4 separate regions of the Homo sapiens genome follow, and regions 2, 3 and 4 are each linked to region 1. Evidence: promoter capture Hi-C in human tissues and cell types (Jung and others, 2019). All regions are on one chromosome and are shown on one strand. The core of a region is centred on a gene start or on the middle of the fragment in contact, and the rest is flanking DNA. Distances in the headings are between cores, read along the strand shown. Region 1 holds the start of THADA (THADA armadillo repeat containing). Region 2 has its middle 13 kb from the start of LINC02580. Region 3 overlaps THADA (THADA armadillo repeat containing). Region 4 overlaps LRPPRC (leucine rich pentatricopeptide repeat containing).

Region 1 (8,000 bases), core at 1,461-3,960:
GCTCAACAGCCCAAGATGACTGCCAAAAACCACAGAAGTCAGCCATATCAGAGTGCATGATTTTATTCAAACAGGCCAGGTGACATGTAGAGCATTAGGTACAGCGCTGGCGGCCATACTCTAAGGAGCCATAACAAACAATGGAACTATTTCTGAAGGACCTAGAGAGCACCTCCTTCAGAGAACAGCTCAGTTAACCAAAGGTGTTTGGCCTGGAGAAAAAGTCAACAGAACAAGAGCCTTAAAACAGCTGCTAGACTGTTTTGGAGAAAAAGGGAATAGATTTATTTGTCTACTACAGACTTTTTTTTTTTTTTTTTTTTTGAGACGGAGTCTTGCTCCTTCGCCCATGCTGGAGTGCAGTGGCGCGATCTGCGCTCACTGCAAGCTCAGCCTCCTGGGTTCAGGCCATTCTCCTGCCTCAGCCTCCCGAGTAGCTGGGACTACAGGCGCCCGCCACCACGCCCGGCTAATTTTTTCTATTTTTAGTAGAGACGGGGTTTCATCATGTTAGCCAGGATGGTCTCGATCTCCTGACCTCGTGATCCACCCACCTCGGCCCCCCAAAGTGCTGGGATTACAGGCGTGAGCCACCGCGCCCAGCCTTAGACTTCTTGTCTTGCTATTAGATTAGTAAAAGTCAGTACAAGCTACAGGGAAACAGATTCCAGATCAATACAAAGGAAAAGCTCTATGGTCCCACTAAGGACTGGGCTACCTTTTAAACAAAGAAATTTTCCAACACCAGGAATATTCAAAGAGAAGATGACTGAATATTTTCTCTTGGACTCCTGAAACAGCTCCCTAACTGGTCTCCTGACTTCTACACTTACCTCCAAAGAGCCCATTCTGTTTACAATCATCAAAGCAATCTCTTTAAAAAAAACTCTCATCAAATTGAATTACTTACTCTCTTCCTTAAAACTTTCCAAGGGTTTCTAAATACACTTAGAATAAAATTCAAACTTGAGGCCAGGAGTGGGGGCTCGTGCCTGTAATCCCAGCACTTTGGGAGGCCGAGGCGGGTGGATCTCCTGAAGTCAGGAGTTCAAGACCAGCCTGGCCAACATGGTGAAACCCCGTCTGCACTAACTAAAAATACAAAAATTAGCCGGGTGTGGTGGCAGGCGCCTATAACCCCAGCTACTCCGGAGGCTGAGGCAGGAGAATGGCTTGAACCCAGGAGGCAGAGGTTGCAGTGAGCCGAGATCGTGCCACTGCACTCCAGCCTGGGAGACAAGAGCGAAACTCCATCTCAAATAAATAAATAAATAAATAAATAAATAAATACTTGAGATTTTGCCCTTCAAGGCCCTAAATAATCTGACCCTGCCTTCCTCCACTCTTCATCTCAAACCAATCTCCTCTTCACCATCTCAAGAGCTTTGTACTTCCTGATGCTCTTATTCCCACCTAAGAGGCTTTACACTTCTCAGTATCTCTGCCCCTTAATGTTCATTCCACATCTTTGCAAGACTGACTCCTTCTCACCATTCATGTTTCTGCTGCAACATTACCTTCTAAAAGCCTTCCATGACCACTCTATCTAAAATCTCACCAATACAACACACGTAGACACCATTTCCGTTAATTTTCTTCATAGCACTTACTAGTACCAGAAATTACCCTAACTTGTAAATTTGTATATTGTCTGTCTCACCTAGTAGCAAACTGAATGAAGGCAGCAACTTTAATCTATTTTGTTCATGTTTCAAGTCTCAATTTCCAAACCAGTGCCTGGCACATAGTAGGTGTTTAACAAACACTTCACGAATAAACAAATTAATTAACAAACATTTGTCAGAGATGTTCTAGAAGGGATATATGTCTTTAAGGGCAGGAAGGTGGACTATCTGGTACCTAAAATGCATTCTACATCTAAGTGACATTCTACATCTTAAGAACCTATGGTCTGTTTGGGAAGTAAGAAATCCATACAGTAATGGCAGGTGAGCAACCACTTAACCAAAAATGGACGCAGCTAGGAAAGTGTCGACAACAGAATAATTTGTAAAGGGATAGTCAGATCTAGAGGAATAGAGGCACGCTTCCTAAGAAAGTGACCATCGTACAAAGCCAGAAGAGACTGGGAAACCTAACTAGGGAGACTATTCTCTGGTGAAAGGTAAGCAAGTTTGCAGGAGGATTTGCTCTTGCAATTCTGAGGGCTACACAAAAGCAGACTCGGTAATTATGCCTGCTCAAATGATGCCTAAACGTGTGTCCTGAAGAACCAGGGTCCCCAAGGGGGTAAATCCCGTGTCTACCGCAAGGCCAGAAGGTGCCCAGTAAATTACACTCCTCCTAGGTCCCACTTACTGCTTCCCTTTAGAACGCTGCTTCACTCTACACCTTCCTGGCTGACTCCCACAAACATTCTCTGGGCGATTTCTGAACCACGTGGAGTCGAGGAATGACAGTGGGAGAAAGTGGTTAAAGTGCTGTCTCCATGGAGACCTTAGCGACCGGAAATCAGTTTCACAGCCGCCGAATCCTGGCGATACCAAAGGATGGGAATTGGTGTGGCTCGCCAGGCAGCCCTAGCAAAACTGGCCGAGCCGAGCTACCGCGGGTCTGGCAGGCAGGACACCTGGGAGCCAAACCTCGTGCACGTCGGCGTCTGAGAAGAGTCGCAGGCGCCTGGTCCAGTCCCGGAAGCAGGTCTCCTTCTACGGCGTCTCCGAGGCTCGCAGCGCGGTCCACGGTCGACTACCGGGTCAGGGCAAAGGGAGGGAGAGAGGGGTAACCTGGAGGAGTCATCGCGAGAATTGACCAAACGCAGCTCCTCCAATCAGGAGTTCGAGGAGGTCGTGACGTCACCGGGGTGGCCGGTAGCAATCCGGTTTAGTTAACCAGCCACTGTACCGTCAGCGCCGCGCGTTCCTCATGGCGTTAGGGCTGACGGGCCTTGTTGCTGAGGGGCCTTCATTCAACGGTCTCTTGTTGAATGAAAAGACCTCATTCTCTTCACATGCTTGGACGCCTGGGAAGCGCTTTTCTCCCAATCCAGACCTTCCACCTTTCTCCCACTCTGTTGGCCCAGTGCAGAGTCTAGGAGAAAACTACGTCTGGGACTCGGGAACGAGTCCAGGGAGTTTAGAGCCTGCGAGATGGGGCAGGGGTTTGGGCGGCGACTGAACGGAAGCCACGAGAAGGATTCGGACTAAAATGAGTAGTGCTGAACCAACGTGTGCCAAAGCGCATATATTCATTCAATAGATAATGAACTCTACTGTCAGAGCGTCGCCAAGCGCTAGCCTTGAAAGCTATCCCCTACTGAGGATACATGTATTACGCAGCACATACAAATTGTCAGATGGTTCAGTCCTTGAAAAATAAATACAATAACGGGGTGTCACTGGGAGCTGCGACAGTGGGCAAGATCAGGAAAGACCTGATGCTATTATCAGGAGTATTAATTTGGAAAATAGAGACATTTCAGTTCTCTAAACGTTAATGACTTAAGTTTTTAATAATTATTTTCTGAATTTTTTATATCAGCTTGCCTTGGTTTTCTTTATAGCTTTACCACATAATGTATGTATCACTATCTTGTTTCGTTCAATTTTGAAGCTTTTGGAATTGCGTATGTATTCTCCAGCAATTTGCTTCTTTCAGCATTGCTTTTCATATTCACCTACAGGTGGCTGTAGTGCTCTTCGCCCAGGCTGGAGTGCAGTGGCGCGATCTCGGCTCACTGCAAACTCTGCCTCCCGGGTTCAAGTGATTCTCCTGCCTCAGCCTCCTAAGTAACCGGGATTACAGGCGCGCGCCACCACGCTCAGCTAATTTTTGTATTTTTTAGTGGAGACGGGGTTTCACCATGTTGCTCATGCTGGTCTTGAACTCCTGACCTCGTGATTCGCCCGCCTCGGTCTCCAAAAGTGCTGGGATTACAGGCGTGAGCCATGGCGCCCGGACCGTAATTTTCCATTGTTTAATATACTTCATTATGTATCCATCCTGCTGCCTCTTAACATGTGCATTATTTCCAGTTTTTGTTCTAAACATTGCTGCTGTGAACTATGTTGTGCATGTCAGCTGGTGAGTGTGTGCAGACGGTTCTCCACCATAATTTTTTCTGGTATTTTTGACCCTGACATAGTAAGAAATACATTGCAGACTTTGAAACTGTGGACGTAGAAGTACTCACACATAACTGAAGTAAAAATTTCTTGAAATGCTACTTTACAGGAGCTGTGAGATTTTATTTCCTTTTTTTCTAAATTATGGTAAAATACACAGCAAAATTTACCATTTTAACCATTTTTAAGTTTTATGTTTTTTAAAATATGTATATTGTTTCAGACCTACTAATTATATAACTCAGTGGGTCCGAACCCCTTTTTTGTTGGCAGACACTGCAACTCTTCACCCTGCACAGCGAGAGGTGGGCTAGGGAGCAAACATAATAAACATATGTTGAAAGGTGAAGCTACTGTTAAAACTTCAGACAAATTAAACTTAACAGGGTTTAATTGAGCAAGGGGAAAAATGATTCTCAAATCGGGCAGTCTCCAGAATCATAGCAGATTCAGAGAGACTCCAGGGATGCCTCGTGGTCAGAGCACATTTACAGACAAAGAAAGGAAAGTGATGTACAAAAAGCAAGTGAGGTACGGAAGCAGCTGGATGGGTTACAGCTTGGCATTTGCCTTACCTGAACACAGTTTGAACAGTAAGCATTGTATGAATAGTTGAAGTATGGCTGCTGGGATTGGCTGAAACTCAGCTATTGTTACAGAAGCACACTCCTAAATTAGGCTTTCAGTCTTGTCTACCTACTAAGTTAGGTTATGGTTCATCCACAAGGACTCAAATATGGAAGTGCAGAGGCTTTCTCAGGCGGTATTTAGTTCAATTTAACACCGCCATGGAAAAAATAGGGGAATGGAAAGTGAGAGTATAGGGGAGGTACATTGCAACTTTAAATAGGGTAATCAGGGTAGGCCTCACTGAGTAAAGATTTCCAAGAGACATAGACACTTGGTGAAGGGGAAACCTTCCATACAGAGGGAACAGCCAGTACAAAGTTTCCAGGGCAGGGCTTGCCTGCTGGGAGAATAGCAAGGAGGCAAGAGTGGCCGGAGCCAAGCAAGGTAAATACTAAGGAGTGGGACAAGGGGCTTTGGATTATATAAGGCTTTCACATTATTTCATGGACTCTTTCATGAAATGAGGAGTGATTTTGAGCAAAAGAATAATAACATCTAATGTACATTTCAAAATAATCACTGGAGCTACTTTGTTAAGAAGAGACTGTAGGTCGGACGCGGTGGCTCACGCCTGTAATCCCAACGCTTTGGGAGGCTGAGGCGGGTGGATCACCTGAGCTCAGAAGTTCAAGACCACCCTGGGGAACATGGTGAAACCTCGTCTCTACAAAAATGCAAAAAAAAAATTAGCTGGGCATGATGTTGTGTGCCTGTAGTCGCAGCTACTCGGGAGGCTGAGGCACGAGAATTGCTTGAGCCCCAGAGGCAGAGGTTGCAGTGAGCTAGCATTGCGCCACTGCACTCCAGCTTGAGCTGCAGAGTGAGACTCCGTCACAAAACAGAAAAAAAAATAAAAGACTGTAGAGCCTGCAGGAAGCCCAGTGAGGCTGTTGTGGTAAACTAGGCAGGCAGGATGCTGGTGGCACTGACCAGGGTGGTAGCAGTGGAGAGCGGGAAGTGGACAGGTTTTGGATATAATTTGAAAGCAGAGCTAACAGGATTTTTTTCTGAAGGATAGAATATGGGTATGAAGAAATGAAGAGTCAAAGATGAGTCCAAAGTTTCTGGCCTGAGCACCTAGAAGGATGAAGTTGCCAAAGTTTACTTGGAGCAGATTTGAATGGGTTTAAAAGAGACTGGGAAGAGAGGAATTGGCAAGATCAAGCAGAGGCAACTCCTTCTAGTCCTTCTAGTACGCAAGGGGCAGATAAATGGAATGGTAACACCTAGAGGAAGTATACTGCCAAAAGCAATCTACAAATCCAATGCAATCCCCATCGAAATACCACCATTATTCCTCACAGAATTAGAAAAAACAATGCTAAAATTCATATGGAACAAAAAAAGAGCCCGCATAGCCAAAGCAAGACTAAGCAGAAATAACAAATCTGGAGGCATCACACTACCTGATTTCAAACTATGCTATAAGGCCATAGTCACCGAAACAGCATAGTACTGGTATAAAAATAGGCACATAGACCAATGGAACAGAATAGAGAACCCAGAAATAAACCCAAATACTTATGGCCAACTGAGCTTCGACAAAGCAAACAAAAACCTAAAGTTGGGAAAGGACACCCTTTTCAACAAAAGATGCTGAGATAATTGGCTAGTCACACATAGGAGAATGAAACTGAATCCTCATCTCTCACCTTATACAAAAATCAACTCAAGATGGGTTAAGGATTTAAATCTAAGACCTGACACTCTAAAAACTCTAGAAGATAACATTGGAAAAACCCTGACGTTGGCTTAGGCAAGGATTTCATGACCAAGAACTCAAAAGCAAATACAATAAAAACAGAGATAAATAGTTGGGACTTAGTTAAAGTAAAGAGCTTTTGCACGGCAAAGAACAGTCAGCAGAGTAAACAGGTAACCCACAGAGTGGGAGAAAATCTTCACAATCTATAAATCTGACAAAGGACTAATATCCGGAATCTACAATGAACTCAAACAAATCAGTAAGAAAAAAACAAACAATTCCATCAAAAAGGGCTAAGGATATGAATGGGCAATTCTCAAAAGAAGGGCCAGGCACAGTGGCTCACACCTGTAATCTCAGCACTTTGGGAGGCCAAGGCGGGCAGATCACCTGAGGTCAGGAGTTTGAGACCAGCCTGACCAATATGGAGAAACCCTGTCTCTACTAAAAAATACAAAATTAGCCAGGCATGGTGGTGCATGCCTGTAATCCCAGCTACTTGGGAGGCTGAAGCAGGAGAATCACTTGAACCCGGGAGGTGGAGGTTGCGGTGAGCCGAGATCTCACCATTACACTCCAGCCTGGGCAACAAGAGCGAAACTCCATCTAAAAAAAGAAGAAGAAGAAGAAGAAGAAGATACACAAATGGCCAACAAACATATGAAAAATGCTCAACATCACTAATGATCAGGAAAATGCAAATCAAAATCACGATGCAATACCACCTTACTCCTGCAAGAATGGCCATAATCAAAAAAATCAAAAAACAGTAGATGTTGGCATGAATGTGGTGATCAGGGAACACTTCTACACTGCTAGTGGGAATGTAAACTAGTACAGCCACTATGGAAAACAGTGTAGAGATTCCTTAAAGAACTGAAAGTAGAACTACCATTTGATCCAGCAATCCCCCTACTGGGTATCTACCCAGAGGAAATGTTATTATACAAAAAATATACTTGCACATGCATGTTTATAGCAGCACAATTCACAGTTGCAAAATCTTGGAACCAACCCAAATGCCCATCAATCAACGAGTGGGTAAAGAAACTGTGGTATATGTATACAATGGAATACTGCTTGGCCATAAAAAGGAATGAATTAACAGCATTTGCAGTGACCTGGATGAGATTGGAGACTATTATTCTAAGTGAAGTAACTCAGAAATTGAAAATCAAACATCATATGTTCTCACTGATCATTAGGAGCTAAGCTATGAGGACACAAAGGCATAAGAATGATACAATGGACTTTGGAGACTTGGGAAGAGTGGGAGGGGAGCGAGGGATAAAAGACGACAAATATGGTGTAGTGTATACTGCTTGGGTGATGGGTGCACCAAAATCTTACAAACTAACACTAAAGAACTTACTCATGCAAGCAAATACCACCTGTGCCCCAATAACTTATGGGAAAAAAATAAAAAATAAAGTGAATCAATAAATCAATAAATAAAATTCTCAAAAACAACAACAACAACAACAACAACAAAAAACCCCTACGTTCTCGTAGAGAATCATCTGTTACTTTCCAAACGTACAAACCCCAATTATTTCCAGGCAACAAAGGTTTTGTTTTAA
Region 2 (8,000 bases), core at 3,301-5,800, 480 kb before region 1:
ACTCAGAGGACTTTGCCAGACATAACACAGCCAGTAAGAGCAGAAGCCGCAATGCCCACTCAAATCTGTCCAGTTCCAAAGTTCACACACTTTTTTTTTTTCTTGAGATGGAGTCTCGCTCTGTCGCCCAGGCTGGAGTGCAGTGGCACAATCTCAGCTCACTGCAACCTCCACCTCCTGGGTTCAAGGAATTCTCCCGCCTCAGCCTCCCAAGTAGCTGAGATTACAGGTGCGCACCACCACACCTGGCTAATTTTTGTATTTTTAGTAGAGATGGGGTTTCGCCATGTTGGCCAGGCTGGTCTTGAACTCCCGACCTCAGGAAAGCTGCCCACCATGGCCTCTCAAAGTGCTGAGATTACATGCCTGGCCAGTTCACACACTTTTAACAACTACACTGTAAGACCCTGCCACACAGAAAGAGAGATAAAACCTGTGGGAAAAGTGAAAAGGCAGTTAATTTGTGGCATGAGAGCACAGGAGACATATAACTCTCAAGAAAACACCATTCGAGAGAAAGCCAGAAGCCCACACCAACATTTTGCATTCAAGACTGTGGGGCTTATGGAAGGCCAGTGGACAGAGCCCTCCCAAACATCGAGAGCCTGCTGGATCGTAAATATCAGTTGCACCCAAGTTTCTGCAAAAGTCAGAGGGCAAGAGGTGTTGCAGGGAAGGGCCCAGGTTAAACAAAGGCTGCACATTGTGGGTGATGGACACTCCACAACCAAGCTCAAGACACTCCTGTGGGTCCCTCCTGACATCAATGAGTGAGCAATGCAGAGCCCAACACTCCCTGCCTGAGCACAGGCCAAGCTGATTTGGGCCAGGGATACCTGCTGGGCACAGCCATATGTGCCCCCGTCACTTCCCCAGGAAACCAGCAGGCAGGCGTTATCAGGGACAAAACAGAACCCAGGAACTTGTCCACTGTTGAGCTCCTGAGCACTTCACAGCAGGGCCGGGAAGAATGGATGGACTGTGACTCTCTGGTACTCAAGACACTGAAGCCTGGCCAGGCGCAGTGGCTCATGCCTATAATTCCAACACTTTGGGAGGCTGAGGTGGGTGGATCACTTGAGGTCAGGAGTTCGAGACCAGCCTGGCCAACATGATGAAACCCCGTCTCTACTAAAAATACAAAAATTAGCCTGATGTGGTGGTGCGTGCCTGTAATCCCAGCTACTCGGGAGGCTGAGGCAGGGGAATTCCTTGAACCCAGGAGGCGGAGGTTGCAGTGAGCCGAGATCACACCACTGCACTCCAGCCTGGGTGACAGAGTGAGACTCCATCTCAAAAAAAAAAAAAAAAAAAGACAATGAAGCCCCATCTCCTTTGATTGGATACACAGGACAGTTCCTTTAGAAGAGGGACAGGAGTGTCCGAGCCACAGGAAAGCTTTTCTCATCATGAGCAATACACCCAGGCTCAGCCCCAGGAAATCTGATGACTCAGGACACAGACATGTTTAACCAGGTGCTAGGGATAAGCTGTGCCTGAGCCCACTGTAAGGGTAAGGCCCATTCTCTGCCCTCATGGGGCTTACAGTCTATAAAACGGCACAGAGGTAGAAACACTTCAGTGTGTCTTCACAAGTCACTCCTAGAAAACCAAGAAAGGTACAGGAGGAAAGAGGGAGGTACCTACCAAATAGATGCAGAAGCTAACCACTTCTTCTCTCTTACCCACTGCTACTACCATCATCTCTGGCCTGGATGAAGGCAAAGGGTCCAGAACACAGCACCCCTGCTCCTACTACAGGGACTTGGCGCCTGTTGTTCCCTCTGCCCTTCCTGAAGTATCCTCATGTTTTAGCATCTTCATGTCTTTGCTCAAATATCCCTTCTCAATGAGGCCACCCAAGTAAAGTTCACAACAATGCCCCTCTCTCTGGCAGTCCACAAACATGTAATTATGTGCAATACAAGAGGCTTTGCTCACTGGCTCTGCACAGCCCACTCTCTTCAGAAACTTAGGACAAATTCCCCATTGGCCTTGGCCAGAGGCTATTTCTGTGGCTCACAAAAGTGTACCCAGAAGGAGCCTTCCTGCCACCCATTCAGCCAGTGCATGGGATCAAGCTTGGTTCCTTCAGCTTGCTTACCCCAAGGCTGGTCCTGTCCCCTCCTGGAGAAATCCCAGCAGAGCCTGGACAGCCTTTCTGTCCCCTCTCCTCCACCTTGACCAAAAGGCCTAGTCCCAGATGGACCCTGGGAGCCTGGCCTGGAGCAGTTCAAGTTCCTGTCCAGGAAGATATGTCTCTCTTTACCAGGCTCCAGAATGTAATATTTAGGATGTAGAAATCAGCTCTGACCTGTTACAGCAGGACTGAGAAGCTTATCACCAAAACTCCCTTTCCCTTCTCCCTAGGCACCCATCTAGACTACAGTTCCAGCTCCCTTGCTATCCAGGGTGGCCAGTGGAGTGTGAGCAGAAACAATGTGTCTCGCTTCTGGCCTAAGGATGTTAGGCAGATGTGCCTCATCCACCTCTCTTTCCCCCGCTGCCTGACCTCATGGCCTAGAGACAGCAGAGCCATAAGGTGGAAGGAGCCTGGGTGCCTGAATCTCCACTCAGAGGAAGGCTGCCTGCCAATCACAGCATCTGAGCCTTTATGTGAGTGAAAAAAGAAACTTTGTGAGCAGCCCACATTTGGGAAATTGGCTACGACATGAATTTGGTGCTTAAAATTAAATTTCACCCTGCTCACTCCAACACTGCTCTGTCCCCTCCCCTAATTGCATTTCTCACCTGAACAATGTTCCCTCCTCCCCACCCATACCAGACCTCCAGTGAAGGCTGAGCAACTTATGGATGAATAATTTCTGCTCTTAGGCTCTGTGAGCTGATGTTGAAGGCAGACTGGCAGGGAGGGAAGGCTCCTCCCACCACCTGCCTATAAGCCTGGTTTCAAAGTATGTGGATTTGGGCAAGATTCCAATCTTGCAGACTCAGCTTCCTCAACCTTAAAAATGGAACAATAGCATCTGCCCAGGCTACTTCACAGAGGAAAAGATCAGGAAGCTTGATATGCAGGAGCAGCTGCTCTGAGCAGATCCTCTACAAATATCATCTCACATCACTTATCTCAGATGGGCAAACTGAAGCATATAGGGGCTTAAAAGTAACCTGTCCAAGTTCATGCAATTGGTAAGTAGTGGCCCCCAGCCCTAACTTGGTCTTCCCCATCATCTCTCTATAATCAGATGGCACCACCACCCACCTGGCTACTCAACCCAGAAACCTCAGGTCATCCCTGCTCCTCTCTTGTCCTCACCTCCTATAGACAATTGGGCACCAAAGTCCGGTTTTTTGCCTTAATAAATCATTCTCCAATCTTGCCCTTTCCTCCATGTCTGTTGCCACCACCCTAGTCCAAGGCCCCCGCATGCCTCTCCTGAATCCTGCAGGAGCATCCTTGCCAGTCCCCATGCTAGTCTTCTTCCACTCCACCACGCTCACCCCCATGGCAGCCTCGAGCACCTTTTTGGAAATGCAAATCTAGCCATGCCAACTCCCAGGTTAAGCCAGCTCAATGGCTTCCCACTGCTCTTATGACAAAGACCTGGGCATGGTCTGCCCGGCCTGTGCCATCCAGCCTCTTCTCGAGCCCCTCCCACTCTGCTCCTCCTCTCTCCGTTTCAGTCATGGCAGCCTTCTTCCAGTCCCCTGAACACCCACCAGCTTCCTCCTTGGTAGAAGCATTCTTTGCACATGCTGTTTCTTCTGCATGGAACACCCTTCCTCCCCATCTTCACCTGGTTGACTCCTAATCACCCTTTTTGTATCTCAGGTCTGGTGTCACTTCTTCAAAAACTTTTCCCTGACCTCTTGACTAGGAGACATCCTCCTAGAGCACTCATTGCTGCTATTATTTTATGTCTCTTCGAGTAATTATTTGAGGAATATGTCTCCCTTACATGATTTTAAGCTCCTTCAGGACGAGAACCATGTGCATTTTGCTCACCATTGAAACCCAGTGGATGTGGAAATCAGTAGACACAGTGTCCAGCACATAGCAGAACTTGAATATTGGCTGAATGAATGAATCAGTGAAAGCTAGAATTGAAATCTAAGTCTTCATGACTCCTCTGCAAATTGCTGTGGGGAATTGTATTTGTCTGCTTGGGCTGCCGTAACAAAATAGCACAGATTGAGTGGCTTAAACAGGAATTTGTTTTCTCACACTTCTGGAGGCTGGAAGTCCAAGATCAAAATGCCAGCACGGGGCTACATATGGTGGCTCATGCCTGTAATCACAGCACTTTGGGAGGCTGAGGCAGGTGGATCACTTGAGTTTAGGAGTTCAAGACCAGCCTGGGCAACAGGTGAAACCCCCATCTCTACCAAAAAATACAAAAAAATTAGCCAGGTGTGGTGGGCACCTGTAATTCCAGCTACTCGGGAGGCTGAGGAAGGAGAATCACTTAAACCCAGGAGGCAGAGGTTGCAGTGAGCTGAGTTCACACCACTGCACTCCAAACCCGGGGACAGAGTAAGACTCTGTCTCAAAAAAAAAAAAAAGAAAATGCCAGCAGAGTTGGTTTCTGATAAGGCCTCTCTCCTTGAATTGCTCCTTCTCACTGTGCCCTCTCACAGTCTCTTCCCTCGGGGCATGCATGCAGAGAGGAGGGCTGTGGCGCTTCCTCCTTTTCTATAAGGACACCAATTTATCAGATTAGGACCCCACACTGAGAACCTCATTTAACCTTTTTTGTTTGTTTGTTTTGTTTGTTTTTGAGATGAAGTCTCACTCTGTCATCCAGGCTGGAGTGCAGTGGCGCCATCTCACCTCACTGCAACCTTTGCCTCCCGGGCTCAAGAGATTCTCCCACCTCAGCCTCTTGAATAGCTGGGACCATGGGCAAGCCCCACCACACCCGGCTAATTTTTGTATTTTTAGTAGAAACAGGGTTTAGCCATGTTGGCCAGGCTGGTCTCGAACCCTTGACCTCAAGTGATCTGCCTGCCGCCTCCCAAAGTGCTGGGATTACAGGCATGAGCCACCACACTCAGCCTCATTTAACCTTAATTACTTCCTCAAAGGCCTTATCACCAAATAGGGTCACACTGGGAGTCAGAGCTTTCACATGTGAATCTGGTGGGGAGATACAATTTACTCCAAGACATTCCATCCTCTGGCCCCATAAAATTCATGTTCTTCTCTCATGCAAAATTCATTCAGCCCATCCCAGCAACCCCAGACGTTTTAACCCATTCCAACATCAATTCCAAGTCCAAAGTCTCACTGAATATCTAAACCAGGTATGGGTGAGACTTGAGGTATGTTTCATCCTGAGGCAAAATTCTCTCCAGCTGTGAACCTATGAAACCAGACAAGCTTATGTGCTTCCAAAATACGATGGTGGGGAGGCATAGAATAGACATCCTTATTCCAAAAGGGAGAAATTGGAAAGAAGAAAGGGGCAATGGATCCCAAACAAATCCAAAACCTAGCAAGGAAAATTCCATTAGATCTGCAATCCATTAGGCTGTAGTCCCAGCACTTTGGGAGGCCAAGGCAGAAGGATTACTTGAGCTCAGGAGTCCAAGACCATCCTGGGCAACATGGCGAAACTCTGTCTCTACAAAAAATACAAAAATTAGCCAGGTATGGTGGTGCATGCCTGTATTCCCAGCTACTCGGGGGTAGGGGTGCTGAGGCAGGAGGATTGCTTGAGCCCAGAAGGTCAAGGTTGCAGTTAGCCATGATCACACCACTGCATCCTAGCCTGGGTGACAGAAGGAGACCCTGTCTCAAAAAAACAAAAAATAATGAATAATCCTCTTTGGCTGAATGCTGTGCCCACTGGGGCAGCTTCATCACCCCCACCACCCTAGGTGGTAGATCCCATTCTGCAGCTCTGCTAGTCACCTTGCCCCTGAGGCACTGGGCAACATTTCGGCCCACTGAAACCAAGAAGGTGGCCCCGCTCTCTGAAAGCAGGAAAAAACAACCAAGCCCCTGGGCCTGGGGTGTGAATGGCAGCCCTGATAATCTCCAAATTGTCTTCAGGGGTCATTCTTCCCTTTTCTTGAAGGATAACGTATGTTCAAAGCTGGATAACTCTATTGTCCTGTCCTGTAGAATCCCAGAAGTCCAACAGCCTTCTTTCATTCTGTTCCATTTTCTCTGTTTTCTTTAGTCCCAGCTGGAAGTGTTTCTGCTAATATAATCCCATCTCTATTCCTGGCTTCAACTGAGATGGTTGATTAAGTTCGTGGGAATCTTTTTATGGAGTGATTGTCCAGACAGGCCTTTGGTATTTGCACCAAGCAGAGAAACGTGTTTTCTCTCTTTTTGAAATATGGACAGGCTGAGCATTTCCAAATCTTTAAATTCTGGTTCCTTTTTGCATAACAATTCCTTCAACTTATCTCTTTCCTCTTGCATTTTATTATAAGCAGTAAGGAGAAACCAGGCTACACTTTCACCACTTTGCTTAGAAATCTCCTGTGCTAAATATCCAAGGTCATCACTCCCAAGTTTTACCTTGACTGAACACAATTCAGCCAAGTTCTTTACTACTTTATAACAAGGATTGCCTTTTTACCAGTTTCCAACATCATGCTCCTCATTTCTGAGACCTTACCATAAGTACATTTAATGTTCATATTTCTACCAACATTCTGTTTATGATGATATATGTATTCTCTTAGATGATAGAAACTTTTTCTACAACTCTTTCCTTTCTGAGCCTTCACCAGAATCACGTTTAATGTTTGTATTTCTACCAACAGTCTCTTCAAGGCATTCTAGGCTTTTTCTAACATGCACCTCAAAACTCTTCAGTCTTTGCCCATTACCTAATTCCAAAGCCACTTCCACATTTTTAGGTATTTGTTATAGTAGCATCCACTCTTGGTAGCAAAATCTATATTAGTCAGGGTTCTCTGGAGAAACAGAACCTATAGGAGATATATACATCTCCTATGTATACATAGATGGTCCCCAACTTATGATGGTTCAGAATTATGATGTTTTTCACTTCATGATAGTGCAAAAGCAATACACATTCAGTAGAAACCATTCTTCAAATTTTCAGTTTGGATCTTTTCCTGGGCTAGCGGTATGTGGTATGATATTCTCTCATGATGCTGGGCAGCAGCAGTGAGCTGCAGCTCCCAGTCAGTCATACAATTATGAGGTTAAATAACTGATATTCTACAGTTTACTGTATTGCCCGATGATTTTTGCCCAACTGTAGGCTAATGTAAGTGTTCCGAGCACATTTACATTAGGCAGGCCAAGCTGTGATGTTTGGTAGGTTAGGTGTATTCAGTACATTTTTGACTTATGATATTTTCAACTTACGATGGGTTTACTGAGATATATCCCCATCATAAGTCAAGGAACATGTGTGTGTGTGTGTGTGTGTGAGAGAGAGAGAGAGAGAGAGAGAGAGAGTATGAGGTATTGGTTCAAGCAATTATGGAGGGTGGCAAGTTCAAAATCGGTAGAGCCAATGTCCCAGTTTCCATGTGAAGGCCAGCAGGCTACTGCAGAATCAGGAAGAGCTGATGTTCCAATTTTAGGTTTGTCAGGCAGAATTCTCTTTTATTTAGGGCAGGGTCAACCTTTTGTTCTATTTAAACTTTCAACTGATTGGATGAGGCCCACCTGCATCATGGAGGGCAATCTGCTTTACTTAGTCTACAGATTTAAATGTTAATCCCATTCAAAAACACCCTCATAAAACACCCAGAATAATGTTTGACCAAATATCTGGACACTTCATGAACCAGTCAAGTTGACACATAAGATTAACCATCATAGGAATCATACCAGAAGATAGATGTGATCAAGGCTTAATGAGTATCCAAGACCAATGTAAGAGATTAGCACCAGGGCTAGAATTGTGATTTGCCATTCAGTCATTTCATACACATTTACTACACACATATTACTAGTATCTCAGTTATCTATTGCTGTGTAACAAATCACACCAAAATGTAGTGGCTTAAAACAGCAATGATTTATTATTTCTCATGATTTTGCG
Region 3 (8,000 bases), core at 3,352-5,851, 360 kb before region 1:
GTTAACTTCTTTCCTGCCTCTTCCTACAAAGCCCCTTTCCTATACTTCCAGTATGGCTGCTTTTTTGTTCTTAAATTCCTTTCTTTTAGTGATGGGGTCTTGCTGTGTTACTCAGGCTGGAGTGCAGTGGCCTTTCACAGGCATGAACTCCTGGGCGATCCTCCCACCTCAGCCTCCTGAGTAGCTGGGATTACAAGTGTGCACCATCATGCCTGGCTTACAGCTGCATTTTTAGTGTTAGATGGTTTTCTCTCGAAGAGCGATGAATTACATTTGAAATATGAGCTTTTCTGCAGTAGGAAATGATTGTAAACTCACTCTCCTCTAACCCGCCCCTTCAGACTCTGTGAAACATCAATGAAATTACTCTAAGTGATCATTTACCTGAGTACTTTTTTTTTTTTACAGACCCTAAAATCTGGAGCAAATTTACATACTATGAAATGTTTTTTTCAGATCAGTAGGATGAAAAATGAATGCGGATGAAGCTACTACCCTTCCAAAGCTATGATTCTCAAGATAACTATTAGTGGGTAACACTTATTCTGAAATTATAAATGAAAAATGGTGAGCCAGTGAAAAACTGGACCAGCAGCAAAACGTTTGCAAGAGCGCCACCTGCTGGATGTGTGAGGAAGAGGGCTGGGCTGGGCTTGAAAAGGAAGAAAATCATTAAGGTTTCTAGATTAAAATCACTGCAAAGGATGTGAGAGAGAGAGAGAGAGAGTGAGAGTGTGTGTGTGTGTGTGTGTTTGAGTGTTTGAGACGAGTCTCACTCTGTCGCCCAGGCTGGAGTGCAGTGGTGCGATCTCGGCTCACTGCAACCTCCGCTTCCCGGGTTCAAGCAATTCTCTGCCTCAGCCTCCCGAGTGGCTGGGATTACAGGCGCCCACCACCACGCCCAGCTAATTTTTTTTGCATTTTTTGTAGAGACGGGGGTTTCACCATCTTGACCAGGCTGGTCTTGAACTCCTGACCTTGTGATCCACCCGCCTCAGCCTCCCAACATGCTGGGATTACAGGTGTGAAACACCGCGCCCAGCTGATAAATGTGTTTAATGGCATTTTAAGTGAGACACTTGTTACTGCCACCAAGCGATAGGTAAACAATGTAGGCACAGAATAAGTCATTTTCTCTGACTCTCCTTTCCCCAGGTTCCTCCTCACAGCTAAGAGGACGGATATACTTTCACTGGGTGGCAAAATCAGGTTTCCTAGCATTAGCATACTTTTTGGGGGGTAGGGGAAATGCTCAATGGCTCTTTGAATAATTAGGATGGAATGTGTAGGTCACTGCAGGACTTAACACATGCAGACAATAAAAATAAATTATTTGTGCAAAGTTGATCCTGAATTCTCCCAGGATCCAACATTTGGAACATATTTCTGCTTTGCTAAAATGGAACAAAATTCACAAATCTGACCAAATGGGCTGTTTGCCAACTAATCCAGCCCCTACATAAAGCCAGAAAAGGGGAGAGGGGAGGGATCATGTGTATGTGCTAAAATCCAACTCTCTGTAGTCATTTCACAGAGAATGCAGGGCGGCTATGGCAGGGCATTAGAGGCCCTGGGGGATGAAAAAGGCTCATTCAGGCCTGCAGGTGGCCTGCACCTGGGGACAGAGTAAATCTGCAACGGAGTCGCCTCACTTCCTACAGTAGCAGCAATAAAATAGGCTGCCCTGAATGAGTGAACTGAAGAAAAGTTTCTCTGTAAGGAGTGACAGACGACTGGACTCACAGAAGTAGGGGAGGCATGAATGGGATAAAATTTTTGAATTTATGTTCAACATGTTTCCTGCAGATTTAGTGGAGGAAAAATCCACACATACCCCCATCCCAATCCCCCAGATTTTCTTCAACATGCCGCTTCTGTTCTTGGAAGAGTTAACTGCCTCGATTCTGCATAAGAGTCCCAAACACTGAGAACTAGGGTGTCTTCCCCTTCCTTTCCTTCCAAAAAGGCCAGCAGCCTCAAGCAAGCCAAAGTCCTTTCCTCTTGAATGCGTAGTCTTGTGAACTCCACTGTCTTCACAAACTCAGCAGCTGGTGGAAGCTCTCTGAAGAACTGAGACAGGAGGTGGCACTGCTCTGACACCATCCTTTGAAGGTGACAGAGCATCTCAGGGCTTGGGGGACGCCAGCCGGACTTTGAGAGGAGACAGAAGAGGTGCTTGCAGAGGTATTTCACAAAGATCAGGGTCTCGGCCCAAAAGTTGACTTCTGCTTTTTCAAACAGGTAGTCTTCTTCCACCTAAATCAGATGAAAAAGCCGAAAGTCAGTCTTACAGGGAATGGTGACAAGCCCCAGTCCAGACCAAGCAGTACCCTGCCAGATGCAAGAGGGGTTTCCCTTCCCCCACCTGACAGAGGGTGCACTCTTGCCTGTCAACATCCATGTACACACACCACTTGCAGCCTTGAAGGTCACCTTCTATTTTCACTCACTGTATTTCTCCACCAGAGAGGAATTTTTTCCCCAGACTTAACATGACCTTGGATAAAGATGTGTTTGTGGTTCAAAGTCAAGATACTTTGGGGGATGGATGCTGAAAAGGGGACTTCAACAAGGGAGTGGGCTCTAGAGTTTAAGGTGCAGCTGGAAATTGGAGAGGAGGGAGGAAAGGTCATCTCTGCAGCAGGCCAGAGAGGAAGGAATCTCCAAACACAGGACACTAGGCTGTGTCCTGTTTCTATAACACTGTGATTCTCAAGGTCCTTTTGTCAGACACTTACCATGTCTCCAAATTTCTCATAAAGAGGGACAATGCGTTTTGAACCCTTGGCCTGCTGGGGATGCCAAGAAGGCCAGCTGAGTCAGATGCTGGTGGCGATCAATTTCAGTTCTCAGGATGCTTTTGCTGCTTGTCTTTGTCCTCAGTTTCCCTATCTGTGACTGCACCCACCCTGGAGGGGGCTAATAATAGTTTTCTTCAAGCAGGAAGTTCCCAGCAAAGATCCTAATTCTCTGAAAATGCTTCACCCTCAGACCTAACTTTGGGAAGCCCCAGGCTAACTCCAATACTGACTAACAAGCAGTCTCCATAATAAAACTCTCCGCATCCAGGGGCTTCTTTTTTTCTTTTCTTTTCTTTTCTTTTTTTTTTGAGATGGAGTCTTGCTCTGTTGCCCAGGCTGGAGTGCAGTGGTGCAATCTCGGCTCACTGCAACCTCCGCCTCCCAGGTTCACGCCATTCTCCTGCCTCAGCCTCCCGAGTAGCTGGGACTACAGGCACCCACCACCATGCCCGGCTAATTTTTTGTATTTTTAGTAGAGACGGGGTTTCACCGTGTTAGCCAGGATGGTCTCGATCTCCTGACCTCATGATCCGCCTGCCTTGGCCTCCCAAAGTGCTGGGATTACAAGCATGAGCCGCTGTGCCCGGCCAGGGGCTTCTTTCCGAGTTCTCTCCCCTGGCTAAGCTGGAGGCTGACCATCAGCACCCCAGAAGTCAGCCTAAGAGTGTCCCCGTGTCCTCGGCAGCACCCAGTGGGTGACTTTCCTAGTGGTTCCTGCTCTGTGTCTAAGCATGCAAAAGCCCAGCTGAGGCTGTAGGTGCTGCATCTAGCGGGTTTAGGACACTCCAACCCTGCCTCCTACTCCCCTGACACCCCGGGATCACCTGATGCATGCTCTCCACACAGGCCACGAGGTCATCACTCTCTCCCAACAGCCATCCCAGCAGGATGGGCAGTCCAGGGGCCAACTGGTCCCACTGCTGGAGCAGATCACACAGGACGGCCAGGGCCAGGGCCAGAGCGATGGAGGCATCCACCTGGCAGAAGGCAAACTCTGCAAAGACAGGAGAAAGGTGAGCAATGAATATACTGCTCAGGGCCGACCCCAGGGCAGCCTGCAGGACCCTGGGAACAATAAAGGCCTCAGGTAAAATCGCTGCCACCAGCCTGGCAGGGAAGCTGGTAGGGTGGGCTCACTGGAGACGATTAATCACCTTCTGAATCCTGCTATTTATACTGTTAGAATGAGTCATAGGCCTGAACCCACTGTTTCCATGCCCCCTAACTCAGTGTGGACAGAAGCAGTTCCATCTGCAGGATTAGAGAGTTATCTCCCCTCTGCTCCTCCAGTGTCACCAGAAGGATCAGGAAGGCTTCCCTGTCCAGTGTCTCCTCTGCACATCTGCCTGGATTTGACTGGTTTGCCCTTTCCTTGGAAAGCAGATCTCTTGGGCACAAGACACATCCTAGAGCAGGGCATCGGCAAGCTTTTCCTTAAAGGGCCAGAGAGTCAATATTTTAGACTTTGCAAGCCTATACCTCCTCACCTCGGCTGAAAGCAGCCATGGACAATCTGTAAACAAATGGTTGTGGCTGTGTTCCAATAAAACTTTATTTATGGACACTGAAATTTGAATTTAATGTGTCACAAAATATTATTTTTTCCCAACCAATTAAAAATGTAAAAACCATTGATAGCTCATGGGCTGTAAAAAGCAGGTGGTAGGCTGCATTTGGCTCCTATTTTGCTGCCCTCTGTCTCGGAGTTTTTTGTTTTTGGACCCTTGTTTTCCTGGGTGCTTGGAGGAAGGGCACTGAAAGAATAGAAGGGTGCAGAAAGAGGAAGCAGGGGGCCTTGGGGAAACCATTGCTTATTTCAACATTTGGCCTTAGACAATCCTAAATATGGGTTTGGAGGGAGGCTCAGGGGTGTTGTCACTTCCCCTAACAACTCTGCCCCTCCCATCCCAAACCTGGAGGGTGTCTGAAACACGGGACTGAAAGCCCACTGCACAATGGACCTCTGTAGGCCCATCTTGCACCAACTGACATTGAAAGGCCTGTCTTTCAATGATGCATTTCTATTGAGCCCTGATCACTCCCAAATCCACATCTCTAACTTGAGCACACAGACTTACCCTGACCATCTGGCCCCCGAAAGACTTACTCGGCACACAGGCAGACGACCGAGAATCTGCAACAGCAGGCTTAGTTCCCGTGGGTGTTGAACCAGGCTTACTGGGATGGCCCCACTGAGGGCCTAGTGAGTGCCAGGCCCTGATCAAATGCTGTCTCCCCAGTCCTTCTAGCATCCTATGGGTTGGGTATTATGTAACCCACTTGCACACATCAAGAAATTACAGTTGGCAACAAGTTTCATGGTGCATGCAAAGCGCAGATTTGGAGACCCAGCATCAACAATCCAGAGGTTTTGATGGTGGGGTCAGCAGGGGTAGTGACCCTGCAGTAGGGCCAGGACTATTCAGAGGTCACACAGCAGCACCTAGTTGCATGTAAGCAGGTGAAAGTACTGATCTCACCATCTTGAGAGCTCCAGATAAGTCCCCCAGGACACTTGCCCTTTAGTGTCCCCGTTCCCCATGCTGCTTGCTCTGCAGCCTAGAACCCAGATTTAAACCAGGAAACAGAAAAGGGGAGGGGGTGAAGGTGCATTTTGGCTGTGGGTCTGAGCCATGTGTTGACTGGGCCTCTACCTACAATACAATCTCCATTTTTACCTCTACCTAACTCCTTTCTGCAGTTCTCAATTGGCTGAGAATCTGTATAGAGAAGGGATAATTAAGTGGCCTTTTTCTTTCTTTTTTCCCTTCAACTTTTATTGATTGATTGAGACAGAGTCTGTTGCCCAGGCTGGAGTACAGTGGCGTGATCTTGGCTCACTGCAACCTCCGCCTCCTGGGTTCAAGCAATTCTCCTGCCTTAGCCCCCAAGTAGCTGGGACTATAGGCATGTGCCACCACACCCAGATAATTTTGTTTTTGCCCAGCTAATTTTTGTATTTTTTGTAGAGACTGGGTTTCACCATGTTGGCCCGGCTGGTCTCAAACTCCTGACCTCAAGTGATCTACCCACCTCAGCCTTCCAAAGTGCTGGGATTACAGGTATGAGCCGCTGCACCCAGTGGGTTTATCACTCTTTTTTTTTTTCTCAGACTGAGTCTTGCTGTATTGCCCAGGCTTGTGTGCAGTGGCGTGATCTCAGCTCACTGCAACCTCCACCTCCCGGGTTCAAGCGATTCTCCTGCCTCGGCCTCCTGAGTAACTGGGATTACAGGCTCCTGCCACCATGGCTGGCTAATTTTTGTATTTTTAGTAGAGATGGGGTTTCACCATGTTGGCCAGGCTAGTCTTGAACTCCTGACCTCAAGTGATTCACCCGCCTCAGCCTTCCAATGCGCTGGGATTACAGGCATGAACCACTGTGCCCAGCTTATCACTTTTTTGTTGTTGTTGTTTTGTCTTGAGACAGAGTTTCGCTCTTGTTGCCCAGGCTGGAGTGCAGTGGCACCATCTCGGCTCACCGCGACCTCCGCTTCCCAGGTTTAAGAGATTCTCCTGCCTCAGCCTCCCAAGTAGCTGGGATTACAGGCATGCGCCACCACACCCGGCTAATTTTGTATTTTTAGTAGAGACGGGGTTTCTCCATGTTAGTCAGGCTGATCTCGAACTCCTGACCTCAAGTGATCTGCCCCCTCGGCTTCCCAAAGTGCTGGGATTACACCCATGAGCCACTGTACCTGGCCTCCCACCACTTTTTTTATGGTCTCCTTAAGGCAAGGACTGAAAGCCCAACAGGGAAGAAAAAAATTTCATCATCCATCAGCAAAATCAGTATCTGCAGCTCAAGTGACATTCCTGTTGAGTCCATAAAGAACCTATGGGGGTGACCAGAGATGCCACCAAGGAAGGCTAGGCTGCTGCACTAGCCCCACCTGACAGGACAGGTAGCCTCTATCCTGCACCATTTTTTTTTTTTGAGACAGAGTCTCGCTCTGTCGCCCAGGCTGGAGTGCAGTGGCGGGATCTCGGCTCACTGCAAGCTCCGTCTCCCGGGTTCATGCCATTCTCCTGCCTCAGCCTCCCGAGTAGCTGGGATTACAGGCACCCGCCACCACGCCCGGCTAAATTTTTTTTGAATTTTTAATAGAGACGGGGTTTCACCGTGTTAGCCATGATGGTCTCGATCTCCTGACCTTGTGATCCACCTGCCTCGGCCTCCCAAAGTGCTGGGATTACAGGCGTGAGCCACCACGCCTGGCCCATCTTGCACCATTTTGCCATGAATCATGGTTAGGAAGGGGCAGGAGAGTGGCGGGATGACAGGCAAAAGGGAAGAGCTGGTGTGATGTGGCCAGAAGTGGGTCTAGATAGAACTCTTAACTACCCAGACTCCAAGCCTGCAAGGCAAGGACAGAAGAGGAAGGAATGCTGAGATGTTTTGGGGATGCGGGGGGAAGGATGAGTTGGATTTAGATCTCCTGCTTGAGGGACCAGCTGCAACCTGCCAAATTCGGTCTCTTACTACCTTGCCCTGGACTAAGACAGCTCAGCCAGAACTGCCTAGATCTCTACTGGCCAAATGCCTTATGAAGGGAGGCTGGAGTAGGGAGAGGAATTTGTCACTTAAGCATGCAGGCCAGCTAGGCTCTTACAGGCTGGCCAGTCCATCAAGGAAACAAGAAAGCAAGCAGCCAAGCAACAAGTGTGTTTTAAGAATCTGCTGAGAGGCTGGGCTCAGTGGCTCACACCTGTAATCCCCTAATTTTGGGAGGCTAAGGTGGAAGGATCACTTGAGACAAGACCGTGTTGCTACAAAAAATAAAGAATCTGCTGTGTATCCAAAACAATCTTGAAAAAGAAAACAAAATTGGAGGACTCACACTTCCTGATTTCAAAACTTACTACAAAGCTATAGGAATAAAGACAGCGTGGGCCGGGCACGGTGGCTCACGCCTGTAATCCCAGCACTTTGGAAGGCCGAGGCGGGTGGATCATGAGGTCAGGATATCGAGACCATCCTGGCTAACATAGTGAAACCCCGTCTCTACTAAAAATACAAAAAAAAAAAAAAAAATTAGCCAGGCATGGTGGTGGGCGCCTGTAGTCCCAGCTACTCGGGAGGCTGAGGCAGGAGAATGGCGTGAACCCGGGAGGCGGAGCTTGCAGTGAGCCGAGATCGCGCCACTGCACACCAGCCTGGGTGATGGAGCAAGACTCTGTCTCAAAAAAAAAAAAAAAA
Region 4 (8,000 bases), core at 3,651-6,150, 340 kb after region 1:
TCACCAAGAATTAGAACACAAAAATAACAGACATTTTTTCAAAATGAACAGTTACTAAAATCAAGAACATGTATAATATTGGAAATCTACCTGATATTTTTCTTTTAGATTTCACAAGTATAAAGAAAGTTTATCTGAATGTGCTGGCCTTCTGCTGGTTTCTCTTAACAATACACTAAGATTAAATCAGCAAGAAGGGAAAAAAAAACTACATTAAGATACTAGAAAGTGACTCACCTTTCTGAATTAGATCAGTCTCGCCTTTCTCTACCAGTTTACACAAGACATCATGAATCCTTGGTAATACTTTATACTTTTCATAGCAGTCAATGGCGACCTCAAGAGCAGTAGATAGGTCGCCCCTTAGAAACAAAAAAATTAGCAATGAATAAAATAAATCGAATTCAGCTTAGTCTCTTAGTAATACTTTAGAGAGATGTTTAATGACCAGTTAATATGTAAACAACTGAGCTTTACTTAAGGTAGAAAACCACAAAGCTAAAATGGGGGAAAAAAAGAAACAATCTTTATATATAAGTAAATGTTCAGAAAACATACATCATCAGCAATCCACTATTTACCCTGCTTCATCTTTTATTATTTCGTGTGTTAAAGGGTACTTTATAAAAAAGTCCAAATAGATTAAGGCATTCTCTGATTTTACTGTAAATTCTGACTTTATGTAGAAAGTTGCTGTAAGAATGTATTACTTCTGAAAGCAAGGACTACCGTCAAATACTTTTTTCCAATCACTTACGTGCCTTTAACAATTGTATCTCAATAATTTCAGATTTGGTAAACGTTATTAAATGTCCACCAATAGCTAATAAGGAATTTTCAAGAACTTTTTCATCTTTATCATAATATTTTCTGTACTGTCACCTTACTAGCCAAGTAGGAAATAACCTCAAGTTTCATATATATGGGAACTTACTATTATGAAAACTAGGATATTCGTGTTGGTCAGTGAATTCTAGAAGAATTCTAAATACTTTTTTCATTAAAGGGTAAGCTTTTAAAAATTATTTCCAATTACAAAGTCAAGCCTTCTTTTATGTGAGAAATTAAAATAAAAAGACACTGTCATTAAATCAGTTTCTTAAACAACAGTGTGGTACTATATTCTTGTGGGTCCTTAAGAAGTATTTTCCCCCCATAAAAGGACAATTTGCTTTCAATTTACTTTAACCCTGTCTTTATTAAAAGTTTTTTTGTAATTTCTCTCTTACCATACTGAAATAAAATTCACAGGTAATATAAAAAAAATAAAATAAAAGGACAATGTTAGTATGAGAAATATTTAAGACCTTGCAAGACCAGGTGCGGTGGCTCATGCCTGTAATCCCAGCACTTTGGGAGGCCAAGGAGGGCGGATCACCTGAGGTGGAGAAACCCCATCTCTATTAAAAATATAAAATTAGCCGGGCGTGATGGCGCATGCCTGTAATCCCAGCTACTCGGGGGGCTGAGGAGGGAGAATCCCTTGAACCCGGGAGGTGGAGGTTGCAGTGAGCTGAGATCGTGCCATTGCACTCCAGCCTGGGCAACAAAAGTGAAACTCTGTTTCAAAAAAAAAAAAGAAATCCCTTGGAAGAACTATAGAGATTATATGATCCAATTCTACTTGCCACCCCCTTTTACTTTCAAAGAAATAATGAAACTGGGGCATCTAGAGACTGGCTGATTTGACTAAGGCTACCAGGTAAACAGAGGAAGGTACTAGGTAAGCAAGTCGCTGGACTTCCCATTGTCAGTTCAGTACATCTAATTACACATTATGCTTTATTAAAAGCACTGGTATTTGAATAATGTAATAAAGTGGTGCAATTTGGAATAAGAAATTAACGATTTATGAAAAGAGAGTATGAAAGGTATTTTAAAAAGAGGCATGGTTAGAGACATGGCTCCAAGTACAACTAGTGACAATTAGTGAAAATCTTTGTAGAGAATATAAATTTCTCATACACATAACAGTTTTCAAAACCAGAAAGTCCTTTTATACTTCCTGTTAAAGCCTTCACATTTTTGCCTATTATACAAATGTTACATTGCCCTAAGTTGAATTACTATTTTATCAAGATCTGATTTTAAGCTGTACTAAAAAAGTAAAAGACAACGAAGAAATGTTAGTTTTATTGCAATAATAGTGACACAGTGAAAACGAGCCTATCCTGATGGAACTCTTACCTTATCCCCTTACTAAGCCCTGTTTACAGTGCATCTTCTGGCACCCCACAGAGTCATTTGAATTTTTGTCATTTGGGGTGAAGACTAAATTACAGGTTAATTTCAAACTGCAAGTAGATGTTGCAGGCTGGATTACTGTCATAGAAGAGAAATGGTACAGTAGCTACCACATATGATATAAAGCTTTATATAATCAGTATTTTCCCTTACTTCAGACACAGGTTCGGTTATTGCCTTTCTATAACTCTGCTTAACGAAAAACTACTAAAACATTTTTTAAGAGCAAAGCTAACACACATACGATTTTTTTTTAAGTGGCATGATTTGCTTTTCCAGATCAATTCCCAAACTAGAATAGTATTGTCTCAATTGTATTTCCCCCTACATTAGGTCAAAGCTATCAATAAATGAATGAATAATTGTTCTGTCAATCAAAGCGACACGTTAATAGTCTTTGGTCTCCAAATATATGCTTCTGAAGATTATACATGTTCAGAACAACAACAGAAAAAACAAGAATGGCAAAATGGAAATAATTCATATATTTGTCAGTAATTTTAAGAACCAATGTTACTGCTCTTAGGATGCCAACAAAATGAATTAGAAATTTATAATGAAATACCTCATACAAAGTGTACTGGAGATAAAAACAAAGTAAATGACTAGTCAGTTCTTCAGTCCCTATTATCTAATTCGGACTTGTGGTTGGATCATGTCATTTTAAAAGACAAAAATTTACATTCCCCACATAATTTATGTCACTATTAATCTTTCATAATAAAGCTTGAAAACTTAGGTGATGACGGAAATGAAAAATATGTTTAAAAGCACCTAAAATTTGCATTGCTATGAAGATAGCTATGTAGTCATAGGACTTTGGATTTCCATCCCAACTGATAAGAGTACTTATGCTACTCAGCTGTAGCAACGTGATACATTTCTAGAAGTGGTGATGAAAAGCAAATTATCACAACAGCTGAACTCAAGGACATTTGGGTTCCCTCCTAGTTCTAACAGGTTCTATGACTCTGTGCTTATTAGGTTCATCTAAAGTGTTTTGCACAAGCAGAGAAAATCATCAGGTGAAAATACCACTTTTATTAGGCAGGATGAAATCAGTAAGGGAAGCACAATATCAAAAGGAGAAAGGTAAAAATTGCTTTACAACCAAAATGTGGGACAACACATTACCAATCAGTCTACTTCTAGCTTCTGTGACCCAAAGTGATCTGTGAATTTCTTTGAGCACTAGAAATGATTTAAATCCTGCTAAGAAATAACAATAATCCTCTGAAGAAATTAATGTTGACACATTAATTTTGCATTCAAAACTTTGAGCCCATGCTTGTATCAGCATATATGCATAATTCCTAAAGCTTCACATACAAATATTTAAAGGCTCACTCCTAATAAAAATTTAGTCAATGCTTTCACAAATGACACTAAAAGAAAATCAACTCTGTAGCATACTATTACCCTTTATAAAAAAAAAAATCAAGACACCCCCCTCAAAATTTCAATAGACTACATAATTTTCATGCATAAAACTACGTACACTAATAAAAAGTAAGCAATCATTTTAAAAAGCAGTATTTTGTTTGGTGCAAATTAAAAATATAAGCTTTACCAAAATTCTGTAAGTCTATGAAATAAAGGTAAAATTGAGGAAAAGATTCTGTAATTTTAAATTTTAAGAACATATATATGAGATAGGCTGGGTCCAGCAAGAAATTTGGAAACTTAAAATAGAGTTAAATTCATTAACTTGAATAGACTCACTTGGCCTGCATCAAAATTCATTCTAGAATCTAGAATTCACTTCTTAAGGGAACATGACTACAAAGAGCTACTACAAACTACAATTTTTTCATTATTACACGGAAGAACATCCCGATAAATAAGCTTGAAGCTCCGATGGCAAATCTGATAGTACCACTCATTTGAGTCCTCATTCTGAAACTGAAGTATGCTATAACGTCACTGACAGAAAAACAAACACCATGTAGCATGTAAGTTTGCTGGACAGACATTTCTATGGGACATCCACCAATCATAAAACTATCTACTTTGAGATACCAAGAAACATGTACTCCTAAAACTCATATACATTCCTCAATACATATACCTGTAAAAATCATAAATGTATTTCATACAATCTGGAATTGTTAAAACAACCACGAGTGACAACTATCTATTTATCTATTAGTAGCTTTAAACTTAAGTCTCGTAATTTATACTAAGTAACTTTCTAATCCCAGAGAGTATACTTAAACAACAAAAGAAAGATGGCCGGGCGCGGTGGCTCACGCCTGTAATCCCAGCACTTTGGGAGGCTGAGGTGGGTGGATCACGCGGTCAGGAGATCGAGACCATCCTGGCTAACATGGTGAAACCCCGTCTCCACTAAAAATACAAAAAAAAAAAAAAAAATAGCTGGCGTGGCGGTGAGCACCTGTAGTCCCAGCTACTCGGGAGGCTGAGGCAGGAGAATGGCATCAACCCAGGAGGCGGAGCTTGCAGTGAGCCAAGATCGTGCCACTGCACTCCAGCCTGGGAGACAGCAAGACTCCGTCTCAAAAAAATAAAAATAAAAATAAAAATAAAAACAACAACAACAACAAAAAACGAAAGATGACAAATATTGATTTTTTTTATTTGGAATAAAGTACTTTAAACTTATACATTGTTAGTGAAGTGGCAATTTATGTAACAGGCTTCCTTACTGAAATGCGCTCAAATCTGCAATCACTACAGAAAAGAAGGGCTGTGGGGGGAGAAAAAAGTTTAAAAAAGAAAAAACAAACAAACAAAAACCAAACTGAACTCCTTAAAAACAAACTATCTTACAAATCCTCAGCAGATGTTCAATATGGGAAGAAACCAATTCAAGAGAAACCATCATCTTCACAAAAATTATTCTGTTAAGAGAACCAGCACTTGAAAGAGCTAAATGTTTTTTTTCTGTTCATCATCTATAAATGAGGAATCTTCAAGGAGACTGGTGTTGCAATTACAACTAATCCTCCCCAAAAAATTAACTGTGTTGAAGGCTTTGTAATTTCCCTAGGTACAATTTAGCTGTCACTTACTTTAAAATTTACTCAAACATGCGTTCGGAACAGCACTAACTTCACATGTCAAGTGCTTTCCAGCCAATTGAGTCTAAACTGGAAGTCGGTGTTAAACAACTGAATGATTAGACAAGATAGCTCATTTCCCTGCTCTTTTGTTCAGAATAAAATGCCACATTTACATTATCAGGCTCAACAGGATTTTCTGACAGAGGCAGAAAAAACCCTACTGCACACTGTCCGTACTAAGCACATGAAGCCTGTCATTTACCAATCATCCTTCAAAAAGCAATAGCCATGAATGTAACTTAATTACGACCCAATGATCCTTGACGAAAAATCATCTTATCACTGTCCTGTCCCCCTAGGGCAAATGAACCACTTTTTGTCCTTTGGCACTGATGATGCTAAATTCTTAATTGCAATAATGGAGTAAAAGAGCCAAACCTCCTTAATTTCCTTTCAGCACATAAGGAGTTTTACTCTAGAAGGCAAGCATTCCCATAAATAATGAAAGTATCCAGTACAAATGAAGATGCTAAAATTGAAGGGGAGCATGTGTAACAGAATCATCAACATTTTAAAAAGCCTATTTCCCATTTATGTAACATATTAAAGTGTTACAGTGAGTTCCAAAAACATTGTTACAAGTTCATCTTAGAGAAATTGTGACCTTTATGAACTCAAGATTAATTCAGCAAGAATTCTGGGAGGATAGTATATATGAAGTTCATGACACACTTAAATGAAATGCATATGTACATATACAGATTATAACACAAACCAGCACAAAAAAAATCCTTAATGGAAAGCAGAAATTAAAGCTGCTTTGATCACTTGCACCAACATAATCCAGTTAAACAGCTTCAGTTATTTTTTAATGCATGCAATGAAACCAAAATGGATCAGGTATAAAACAAGTGAACCTGAAACTGCATCATACAAATTTTTATGCTTTAATATCTGATGGCCCAGACTTTATTAATTTCATTTCCTTGACCATAACATGAAGACTAATAAAAAACTCTTTTAACCTATTTTAAAGCATTTCTTTCTTCCTTAATGTGACGGATTGCTGTCATCTCCATGAATCAGGCATGATTTTAATAAGATAAAATACTTACAAAAGAAAATGTTTGAAATAATACTCATTTGGACTACATGTAAAATACGTGGCTTAGAGACTGTAATGTAATGTAAATGAAACATAAAAATTTTGTTCAACTGCAAATTTTTTTCCATTCAATGCAAGTATTTTCATTTTGATAATACAAAAGCAGGTTAGCTTACCAACTTCTTTATAATTTTCTAAATCTGTTATTGTTTTGGATTTCCCTTGGCAAATGAATAAAAACAGTGTATTTTTTCTATACCCATAAAGCTTTTTTACATTGTCTAAATAACACAAACTGACACAGTATTAATTTCTCCTGTGTTTTGTCCAATGCTGGAAAAGTCGGTTCAGAATTAAGATCCACTGAAACTTAAAGAGATTATCTTTCTAAGGAACTCAGTCTCATGGAACTGCTTCAGAATTACAACACGAAAGTGATATTCTCTTTAGAGCCTTTTACAGTGACATGCCAAAAAGATGCCTGCCTTTGAATGAAAGGGTGAAGATTTATGATGATGTTTCAAAATGTTTTTTATACTTTTATCACAAGTTTGAATAAATAAAGCTCATTTGCCAGATGAGCTCATACCTGCTGAGGTCAATTACATGATATTACTGAAGATTATACACATTTAATCAAATCGAATACACGTGGACTTTTTGGCAGGCTAGTGTGGTTAATCCTAGCACTTGTCATGATTCTGAATTAATTAGCTATCTTCCATCAGTTGGAGAAAACACAATTGAGAAAGAGTTTCAAAGTCAGGGTTTTACTCCAGGCATTTCCCCTGACTACGAATGTTTCTGCTGTTTTCTGTAATTTCATAAATATAAAATTTCCTTTATCTTTTTATTAGTCTCATGACTCTGAAAGAGTCAATAGCCCTTTTTATTATGATAGATGAAACTGAAAGACCTCATCATGGAGACTGCATTAGCAAAGTAGTCTAAAAAAAAAAAAAAAAAAAAACTAGGCAAATAAAAACAGAATTAAAATAAAATAAAAATAGAAGATATACATATCTGAAAGTAGTAAAACACCAATAATGAAAAGACACTAATTTAGATTTCCTTAGCTCAATTAGCAGGGAGAGCCAAATTTGACTGAGACACAGAAATATCTGACTTCAGGATATAATCAGAAGCACAGAGGATGCTCTAGGTTAACATTTGAATTCCACACCGTTTCCATTTTCCCATGGGTAAGCTCTCCTTGGTTCATGAGCCCCATCTGCAGACCTCTTTCGGAAAGCTTTCAGGTCTCCTCTGTCTTCAAAGTATTTCTATTTGTAAGATACTTTTCTACGATGGCCTCATTTTCATTGTTAATTATTTTATTTTTGCCCGGTAGTGTAGGAGGGCCTAATTTTTCTGGGCACTGGGCCCATTTCTTTCAAATCCTTCTGTAGAGTTGCACATGCAATTTGCAGAAATGGGTCTTTTAAGCAATTGAAAAAAATTCTAATAGGAAGCATATTAATTATAGGATTTCTATATAAAGTTGGCTATGAATATGATAACTCAATAACACAGTCATTATTTGAATCACTATTTCTTTAAAAGGATGTAATGCTGAGACTGTAGAGGTTAAGATTTGACCAGTCATCTAACCCGGTAATTGTTTTTGA

Evidence for each region. The method cuts DNA at HindIII sites, captures the fragments that hold promoters and counts their contacts. A contact is called where the count stands out against the background at its distance.
Region 2: a contact is called between a fragment that was not itself captured here and the fragment with the promoter of THADA in region 1, in 1 of the 25 tissues and cell types used here (lymphoblastoid cells).
Region 3: a fragment that was not itself captured here is called in contact with the fragment with the promoter of THADA in region 1 in 1 of the 25 tissues and cell types used here (lymphoblastoid cells).
Region 4: a contact is called between a fragment that was not itself captured here and the fragment with the promoter of THADA in region 1, in 2 of the 25 tissues and cell types used here (dorsolateral prefrontal cortex and mesenchymal stem cells).

Annotation. Positions count from the first base shown.
Region 1 is chr2:43,593,328-43,601,327 of GRCh38, forward strand. THADA (THADA armadillo repeat containing) reads right to left here and starts at 2,711. Exons shown (of 38, transcript NM_022065.5): 1 at 2,604-2,711. The HindIII fragment of the contact is 9,276 bases long and covers 1-7,113 here.
Region 2 is chr2:43,111,464-43,119,463 of GRCh38, forward strand. No RefSeq gene overlaps it. Among named protein-coding and RNA genes, the nearest start is that of LINC02580, 13 kb to the left of the region's middle. The HindIII fragment of the contact is 5,622 bases long and covers 1,740-7,361 here.
Region 3 is chr2:43,229,088-43,237,087 of GRCh38, forward strand. THADA (THADA armadillo repeat containing) reads right to left here. Exons shown (of 38, transcript NM_022065.5): 37 at 3,626-3,795; 38 at 1,764-2,256. The coding sequence ends at 1,861. Among named protein-coding and RNA genes, the nearest start is that of LINC01126, 5.9 kb to the left of the region's middle. The HindIII fragment of the contact is 6,129 bases long and covers 1,538-7,666 here.
Region 4 is chr2:43,934,517-43,942,516 of GRCh38, forward strand. LRPPRC (leucine rich pentatricopeptide repeat containing) reads right to left here. Exons shown (of 38, transcript NM_133259.4): 24 at 238-362. Among named protein-coding and RNA genes, the nearest start is that of LRPPRC, 57 kb to the right of the region's middle. The HindIII fragment of the contact is 4,461 bases long and covers 2,671-7,131 here.